3 separate regions of the Homo sapiens genome follow, and regions 1 and 3 are each linked to region 2. Evidence: promoter capture Hi-C in human tissues and cell types (Jung and others, 2019). All regions are on one chromosome and are shown on one strand. The core of a region is centred on a gene start or on the middle of the fragment in contact, and the rest is flanking DNA. Distances in the headings are between cores, read along the strand shown.

Region 1 (2,733 bases), core at 9-2,508, 140 kb before region 2:
CTGGCTTACAGTCTGTGGGGGTGGAGGGAGGAGGGAGGACGCCCAGACCCCACGTGCCGACCTGCAGAGCCCTGTCCGTGCCCGCACAGGTGCCCTGACACACTGACACGGCTATACGTGCGCAGCCGCACACGCGGCTGGTCCACACGCCCATCCATCCATCTCCGGCGGCCCCCAGGGAGGCTACGCGCTGAGCCAGGATGAGTGCTGGGACCAGGGCTCCAAGCTCCCAGCCCTTTCCTGGGGCCGGCCATAGGGCAAGCTGGGGATGGCCAGTGGTGGTCCCCCACTCCCTCATGGCCTCCTTTCCCAGCAGGGAAGCTGGAGACCCGGCTCTGCTGGAGCCTGCCTGAGCAGGGCCCCAAGCCCTTGCGCCCAGGCCGGCCCTGCCTGGAGTCCAGCCTGCCCTGGGCTGGGCGACCTTGGGCCTCTGCTCTCCCATCAGTAAATGGCACCCCACCGGCCATGCCAGGGCAGCCACACCCCCAGCGTGGTCCTGCCCCCACCTTCCCTGCAAAGCGTGTTATTAAACGTGGGGCGGGAGGGGGTCTGCTAGGGACTGTCACCTCCCGGGTCGCCCCTCGCCGCAGGGGCCCCCTCCCTGTCTTCCCGGTGCGTGTGGTGGGTGGGGGGGGCATCCGCCTCGCCCTTTGAAGGCCCCAGCAGAGACCTCCAGCTGTCAGCCCGCAGCCTGGGAAGGGAGGGGGACAGAGGTAGAGAGAGAGGGATGCGAACGCCCGCGGCCCGGGAGGCGGGTGCCGCCAGGTGCCCGCTGCGGGGCTCACGGTGGCGGCCGGCTCTCGGGGCCGCCCCATCTCCAGTGCTGGGGGCAGCGGGTGGAGGGCACGGACCAAGGGTCTGGGCGCTGCTGGCCCCGCCCCGCCCCCGGGGACCCGACAACGTCCCCTCCCCGCCCGGCGCCGGGTGGGGGGCTCCGCGCCGGGGAGGGGCCCCCGGGGCTCCCACCCGCGCCCCGCGCCCCCGGCACTCACTGGCCTTCCCGGGCCGCGGCCTCTGCAGCAGCCTCTGCGCGGTCCCTACGTCCTCCGCCTTCACCGCCTGCACCAGCTCCTGCTCCTTCCCCATGGCGCGGCCGGGGCCGCAGCGACGCGGCTGCGCTCGTGAGCTCGGCGCGGCTCAGAGGCGGCGGCGGCCCCGCGGCACCGGCCGCCTCCCCCGCCGCCTCCCCCGCCGCCTCCTCGCCGCCCGCCGCCCCTTCGCCCTCCTCGGGCTCCGGCTTGGGCTCGGGCTCCCGGCGCGGAGGGGGCGGGGAGCGCGTCACGGGCGGGGGGCGGCCCGGGGGCGGGGGCGCGCGGCGGGCGCGGGGCGGGGGCGCGGCACCTGGCGCCGCCTCCCGGACGCCGGGGTCCGCTCCCGGGCCGCCGACCTCCGTCAGCCCGCGCCGGCCGCGCGCCCGGGCCCGTGGCTCCGCCCTCCCCGCGCCCGCCCCGGGACGCCCCCTCCCCACGTGCGCGCAGCGCGCTCAGGCCAGGCCTCTGCGGACGCGGGCGGCCTGGGGCTGCTAGCCGGGCTGGGGACGCGGCCGCCGGGGGTGCACTGGGAGCCCCGACGCGGCGGCGGCGCGGGGCTGAGCCCAGAGAGGCTTCCAGAGGCTGCGGGACCCGCGGGGGACGGTTCCGAGGCAGCGGGCGGGCGGGGACCGGGCGCCGAGAGACCCGGGCGCCAGTGCCCCTGGAGCCGGCCCGCCAGGCTGTCAGGCGTTCCTGGCCCAGGGTTCCCGTGGGAGGTGTCGAGGGATTGTGAAGAGGAATCTCCCAATAATGAATTCGGTGTCAGGGAACCCGCACCCCCAACCCCCAAGCATCCTCCTGCTCCTCTCCGCAAATAATGCGGGCGCCACAGCTTCCCCCAGCCTCAGTCCGAAGCCTGACCCCAAGGTAGCCCCCACCACCCCCACTGAGGGAGCTCAACTCCCCACTCCCCGCACCGACTGGGGGTCGCCTCCATCTCCATCCACAGGGGCTGGAACCTCCCGCCGGCACCAACCGACCCCCGGCCCACGTCTGCCCACTCTCCAGCCTGCAGCCCAGGCAGGCGAGTCCTGCTTCCTGGGTGCTGGAGGCCCCGACTTGTGACCCTCTGAGCTCCTGGCTGAAGGCTTGGGCCACCCTGCGCCTCAGGCCCTCTCCCGTCAGGCCTGCAGCATTCTAGAGGCAGATCAGTGGGGGTCTGAGTCCCGACTCAGGCTCCGTTTCCCTCATCACCCAAGCGGGCAAGGCCGTTTGGAGAATTTGGGGAGGGTCGCACCCATTCTATGAGGCATGGCCTGGCACCCCACTCTGTGTGGCCCCAGACCATTGAGCAGGTCCAGGGGGACAGAGGAGGTCAGACAGCAGGGACAGGGAAGGTGACAGGCACCGGGGTCCCGGCATCCTGTGGGCAGCTGGCCGTTCCCGTTCCCTCCGTGGGGTCTCCTGTTAGGTTCAGGTAGCAGCCCTTGGTCTTCCAGCACTCCTGGGAGGGGTCCCCAAATGCTAGGGCCTTTCCTCTTGCCCTTTCCAATGACCAGTTGAGTACCCGCTGGGTCAGGCACTGTGCTGGTCACCTCCTAGATGAGGTTGGACTCACTGTCCCCATTTTACAGATGAAGAAACTGAGGCTCAGAGAAGCCAAGGGGCTCACCTGGGGTCCCAGAGTCTTGAGGTTGTAAGTCTGGGCTTTGCACCCGCACCTCTGGATGTGTCCTATTCCCCCTCTTAGTGGTTTGTGACC
Region 2 (2,817 bases), core at 144-2,643:
AGTCACTTTAGGAAGGGAGAGACGTCGTCCTGTTTTTCAGGTAGAGTTAGCAAAGGTTCAATTTAAAAGAAAAATTATCTAAGAAGTTAAAAATGAAAGTGTGGGGGAGATTCCCATGACATCCATTTTTATCTATTTTTCCCTTTCTCTTACATTTCTCATGAGGCAAACTTTCTAAAACAGTCTTAGTCTTTTCAAGTTTACAAAAGGCAGCGCCCAGACTATCTGAATAAAATGACGGGATGCCCAGGAGAAGAGTGAACCTCTCCCACGTGCTCCCTGCCTGGGCTCCATGCTGTCGCGGGGTCTCGGCTACTCACTCAGCGGGCATTTCTGGAGTTCCAGGAACACAAACCCCAACAAGATCCAATCGACGCCTTCCCGGAGTGCACAGTCCAGGACGTAACCCGGAGAACAAGCGGCAATTACCCCCTGAGGACATGGCTTCATCTGTGCGACAGACACCAAGCGCCTTCCCCACGCCCCTGACCATAAGGCCGTCCCGGCCCTTCTGAAGCGTGGAGCCGGCTTGGAACAGAGCCAAGACACACGGACGCGATGCACACAGGCGTCCTGACCGAGGGCGCCGAGAACGCGGCCTCCGGCGACTGCCACAAGCCCCTCCGCCTGGACTAGCGGCTCCCCTTTCCCGTTCCCACACAGTGGAGGGCGCAGCAAACGCCCGCCGCGGACCGTGGGCCTTGGATTCGGATTTGGAGGCTCCTCGGAACCAGAGGGTGGGAGCAGGCGGAATCCAACCCGGGCGGCTTTGCCACCGCGCGCCCGGCATCCCTGCGGCCGGAAAGCGGCGCCATCTCCGCAAGTGCGCGGCGGACGCCTGCATCCCTCGGGGCCGGGGCTGTCGGTCGCTACATATCCACCTTCTGGGCGCACACAGAGGGCCCGGGCCGTGCCGAGTCTCCGCAGGGTCGAGCTTCCCCGCGCGGCGCGGGCTCAGGCACTGCCCGCAGTGCGGGACACGCCCAAGGCTCGGATGGGAGCCGACGCTGAGGGAGCGGCACCTGCAGGGAGCGCCCGGAGCCGAGGCCGCGGCAGGAGGGGCGGGCGCGGGCGCGGCCGGAGGGGATGCGGGGTCGCGGGAGGGGCCCGCAGGCCAGGCCGGAGCTGGGGGGGGCCCGAGGCCCGAGCTGGCCGGCGAGGGTGGGAAGGGCGGACCCGGGTGGGGACCGCAAGCCCCGGGAACGAGCGCGCGAGCGGCGGGTCCCGGCGGCACTCACCGAGCCTGGGCGCCGGGGCGGCGGCGGCCGGCGCGCGGCCCTCTCGCGGGGTCCCCTCCCTCGGCCACCCGGGCTCCGCTCCAGCCTCGCAGTGGCGGCGGCACTGACAGCTGCGTGGCCGCCCTGGAGGGGAGGGTGCGCCTGCAACCCGCTACTGGCGGACGCAGCGGCCGCTCCGGCTCCTGCAGGGGGCGCCGCGGATGGCGCGTGCGCAGTCGGCCGCCCCTGCAGGTGCCCGGTCCACCCCCGGCCGCCTCGGCCGCTCCGGCCAGCCCAACCCCGCGCCTGCGCGGTGCCCCCTGCATGTCGCCCATGCCCGGCAGAGGGCGCTCTGACTTGCGCGTGCGCAGTCAGCCACCCTGCGAGTACGCGGTTCGCACCCGGCCGCGCGGCAGCCCGTGCTTGCGCACTGCTCTGTGCCCGCGCCTATGTCCAGCAGGGGGCGCGCAGCGGCGGTAGCCGAGCGAGGGCGCGGTGGCCTCTGACAGGAATGACTCTGCGCACGTGCGTTTCGCAGCAGTGGAAGTCTTCACACCCGGAAACTCGACTTTGGCCGTTTCTCCATTTCTCCTCACGCACTGTCTTTCCTTGGGCCCTCGTCACTCCTGGCACCGGGGGAAGGGCTTCCCCGCCTCTGGCCGGGCGCTGGGGCGCGACCGAAGGCGAGGCGGCGGCGAGGAACCTTCTGGAATTCGGCCGTCGGGGCAGGCGTCGAGTTTACAGGAGAAGGCGCGGTGTCCCGGGATGAGCGGAGTCGCCCTCACTTAAGGAGCGAGGGAGGCCTCGGGGGTCCCCAGCCGGGTAGGAGTCACCTCAGGCAGGAGGGCCCGGCCTTGTCGGGGTCACCTGGCGGGAGGGTCCCGGGGTGGGGCGGGGCCGCCTGTGAGGAGGGTCCAGAGAGGGTCGGGGTCACCTGAGGGGAGGGTGGGGGGGTTCGGGGATGGTTGGGGTCACCCGACGGGATGGTCCGGGGAGGGTCGGGTTCACCTGAGGGGAGGGTCGGGGAGGGTCCGGAGAGGGTCGGGGTCACCTGAGGAGGTGGTCCGGAGAGGGTCGGGGTCACCTCACGGAGCGAGCGGAACGGGGTCACCTGGAGGGAGTGTCCAGGGCGGGGGCCCTGCAGGGAGTCGCCTGCAGGGAGGGTCCCGGGCGTGTCACATTAGGCGGTCCCAGGGACGGGTCGCGGTCTAACGGGACGGGAGTGGGGAGGTGGGTCGGGGTGTCCCTGGGCCGGACCGGGTCGTGGGACTGGGTCGCCCCAGGCAGGAGAGCCTGGGAGGGGCGGGCCCCCTTGGCGTGGCAGGGAGAGGTGGAGTGAGGGACTCCCGGGCTCCAGCATGAGGGCGGGCGCCGCGCGGGGCCGACAGTTGCCGCGGGCCGGGGCCAATGGGTCCCCGAGCGCCGCCAGCGGCCGGACCACAGTGAGGTGCGTCCGTGGTCCCGGCGCCCCGGGTGAGGGAGGGCTGCTGCCGGTCCTGCCGCTGGGAGCCGCCTGCGACCCGCACCGCCAGCCCCGCGCCCAGCCAGCCGCCGGCACCACGACCCGACGGCCCCGACCTAATGCAACGCCCCGGGCCGG
Region 3 (2,805 bases), core at 187-2,686, 180 kb before region 2:
TAGAGGCCTGCCTGAGCCGGGGCTGGTGGTGGAAGGCTGCTGCGGCGGCCCCACGGTGCCCCACAGCAGGTCTGCACACTTGCAGCAGCCCGTCTGACTCACAGGGGCCTGGGCTCCATCTCTCAAGCCCCTCATTTGTGCTCCACCCACAGGAGGTGCTTCCCAAGGACCGTAGATGCCTCTCTAGAGCATGAGCTCAGGCAAGAGTGCCCGCTACAACCGCTTCTCCGGGGGGCCCAGCAATCTTCCCACCCCAGACGTCACCACAGGGGTAAGGGTGTGCCCCTCTGCAAGCCCAACATCCCCAGGACCCCCAGCATGCCCCAGGGATCTGGTGTTGCCTGCAGAGCTCCCAGCGCAGTCCCGTCCCGAGCTGGGGTCTCAGGGGAGCTCGGTGGGGGGGGGTGTGGTGTGTGTGTGTGTGTGTGTGCGCGCGCGCGCGCGCGCGCGCACGCGTGCGTGTGTGGTTGGGGCGTGTTAGTGCTGTGTGGCGCGGCCTGGTTGCATGGTTAAGCGTGTGAGTGCTGCGTGGCGCGGCCTGGTCGCATGGTTAAGCGTGTGAGTGCTGCGTGACCTGGCCTGGTCGCATGGTAAAGCGTGTTAGTGCTGCGTGGCGCGGCCTGGTTGCATGGTTAAGCGTGTTAGTGCTGCGTGGTGCGGCCTGGTCGCATGGTTAAGCGTGTGAGTGCTGCGTGGCCTGGCCTGGTCGCATGGTTAAGCGTGTTAGTGCTGCGTGGCCTGGCCTGGTCGCATGGTTAAGCGTGTGAGTGCTACGTGGCCTGGCCTGGTCGCATGGTTAAGCGTGTGAGTGCTGCGTGGCCTGGCCTGGTCGCATGGTTAAGCATGTTAGTGCTACGTGGCGCGGCCTGGTCGCATGGTTAAGCGTGTTAGTGCTGCGTGGCGCGGCCTGGTCGCATGGTTAAGCGTGTGAGTGCTGTGTGGCGCGGCCTGGTTGCATGGTTAAGCGTGTGAGTGCTGCGTGGCGCGGCCTGGTCGCATGGTTAAGCGTGTGAGTGCTGCGTGGCCTGGCCTGGTCGCATGGTTAAGCGTGTTAGTGCTGCGTGGCCTGGCCTGGTCGCATGGTTAAGCGTGTGAGTGCTGTGTGGCGCAGCCTGGTCGCATGGTTAAGCGTGTGAGTGCTGCGTGGCCTGGCCTGGTCGCATGGTTAAGCGTGTTAGTGCTGCGTGGCCTGGCCTGGTCGCATGGTTAAGCGTGTGAGTGCTGTGTGGCGCAGCCTGGTCGCATGGTTAAGCGTGTGAGTGCTGCGTGGCCTGGCCTGGTCGCATGGTTAAGCGTGTGAGTGCTGCATGGCCTGGCCTGGTCGCATGCTGAAGCGTGTGAGTGCTGCATGGCCTGGCCTGGTCGCATGGTTAAGCGTGTGAGTGCTGCGTGGCCTGGCCTGGTCGCATGCTGAAGCGTGTGAGTGCTGCGTGGCCTGGCCTGGTCGCATGGTTAAGCGTGTGAGTGCTGCATGGCCTGGCCTGGTCGCATGGTTAAGCGTGTTAGTGCTACGTGGCGCGGCCTGGTCGCATGGTTAAGCGTGTTAGTGCTGCGTGGCGCGGCCTGGTCGCATGGTTAAGTGTGTGAGTGCTGTGTGGCGCGGCCTGGTCGCATGGTTAAGCGTGTGAGTGCTGCGTGGCGCGGCCTGGTCGCATGGTTAAGCGTGTGAGTGCTGCGTGGCCTGGCCTGGTCGCATGGTTAAGCGTGTTAGTGCTGCGTGGCCTGGCCTGGTCGCATGGTTAAGCGTGTGAGTGCTGTGTGGCGCAGCCTGGTCGCATGGTTAAACGTGTGAGTGCTGCGTGGCCTGGCCTGGTCGCATGGTTTAGCGTGTTAGTGCTGCGTGGCCTGGCCTGGTCGCATGGTTAAGCGTGTGAGTGCTGTGTGGCGCAGCCTGGTCGCATGGTTAAGCGTGTGAGTGCTGCGTGGCCTGGCCTGGTCGCATGGTTAAGCGTGTTAGCGCTGCGTGGCGCGGCCTGGTCGCATGATTAAGCGTGTGAGTGCTGCGTGGCGTGGCCTGGTCGCATGGTTAAGTGTGTGAGTGCTGCGTGGCCTGGCCTGGTCGCGTGTTAGGCATGTGAGTGGGCTCCACATGTGCACGTCCTCCTTGTGTCCCGGAATGAGGCCAGGTCTCCTCCGTCCTCCCTCTAGACCAGAATGGAAACGACCTTCGGACCCGCCTTTTCAGCCGTCACCACCATCACAAAAGGTGAGCCCTTAAGCCAAGGCCAGCCCAGGCTGGGAATAACCGGGGCACCCCCATGCCCACCCTGCTAAGGACTGAGGGACACTTCCCGGTGAGCTGGTGTTGGGTGCCAGTGCTGGGCGCGGGCAGCCTCACACCGCAGCCTGTGTCCTCACAGCCTCTCAGCCCTGGGCCTCCCCACTGGACAGGAGTCGGGTGTCCTGCTCCTTGTGCCTCGGTGACTGTGCTGTGCCCTCTCTCCCTGCCCTCTTCATCCCCTCTAGGGAGGCTTGCCCTGACATCTCCAGCACCACCACACAGCCCTGTCCCTTGTCACAGTGATCCCCAGCTTGTCCCCAGTCTCAGGCTCCTGGCCAGCCTCCGAAAGGTCCCGTGTGCCCGGAGGTCTTCTCTTGAGTTTGGCCCTAGGGCTTCAGTAACAGTGCTGCAGTTGTGACATGTTAATAGGAAGGGAGGGAGAGTGGAAGAGATCCATAAGTCTGGTTTGTTTTTTTGAGACGGGTGTCACTCTGTCACCCAAGCTGGAATGCAGTGGCGCAATCTTGGCTCACTGCAACCTGTGCCTCCTGGGATCAGTCCTGCCACCTCAGCCTCCCAGGTAG

What was found. Contacts are between HindIII fragments. The study calls those that stand out against the background at their distance.
Region 1: the fragment with the promoter of CASKIN1 here is called in contact with the fragment with the promoter of ABCA3 in region 2 in 4 of the 25 tissues and cell types used here (heart left ventricle, liver, lymphoblastoid cells and 1 more).
Region 3: a fragment that was not itself captured here is called in contact with the fragment with the promoter of ABCA3 in region 2 in 3 of the 25 tissues and cell types used here (bladder, dorsolateral prefrontal cortex and lymphoblastoid cells).

What each region holds. Positions count from the first base shown.
Region 1 is chr16:2,195,347-2,198,079 of GRCh38, forward strand. CASKIN1 (CASK interacting protein 1) reads right to left here and starts at 1,259. Exons shown (of 20, transcript NM_020764.4): 1 at 993-1,259. The coding sequence starts at 1,086. The HindIII fragment of the contact is 36,898 bases long and covers 1-2,733 here.
Region 2 is chr16:2,339,335-2,342,151 of GRCh38, forward strand. It overlaps ABCA3 (ATP binding cassette subfamily A member 3), which reads right to left and starts at 1,394. Exons shown (of 33, transcript NM_001089.3): 1 at 1,239-1,394. It also overlaps the pseudogene ABCA17P. RefSeq lists silencers at 1,015-1,074, 1,245-1,704. The HindIII fragment of the contact is 11,234 bases long and covers 1-2,817 here.
Region 3 is chr16:2,163,731-2,166,535 of GRCh38, forward strand. TRAF7 (TNF receptor associated factor 7) reads left to right here. Exons shown (of 21, transcript NM_032271.3): 2 at 153-271; 3 at 2,149-2,206. The coding sequence starts at 191. Among named protein-coding and RNA genes, the nearest start is that of TRAF7, 9.4 kb to the left of the region's middle. RefSeq lists enhancers at 1-241, 651-1,424, 1,425-2,197. The HindIII fragment of the contact is 6,093 bases long and covers 1-2,805 here.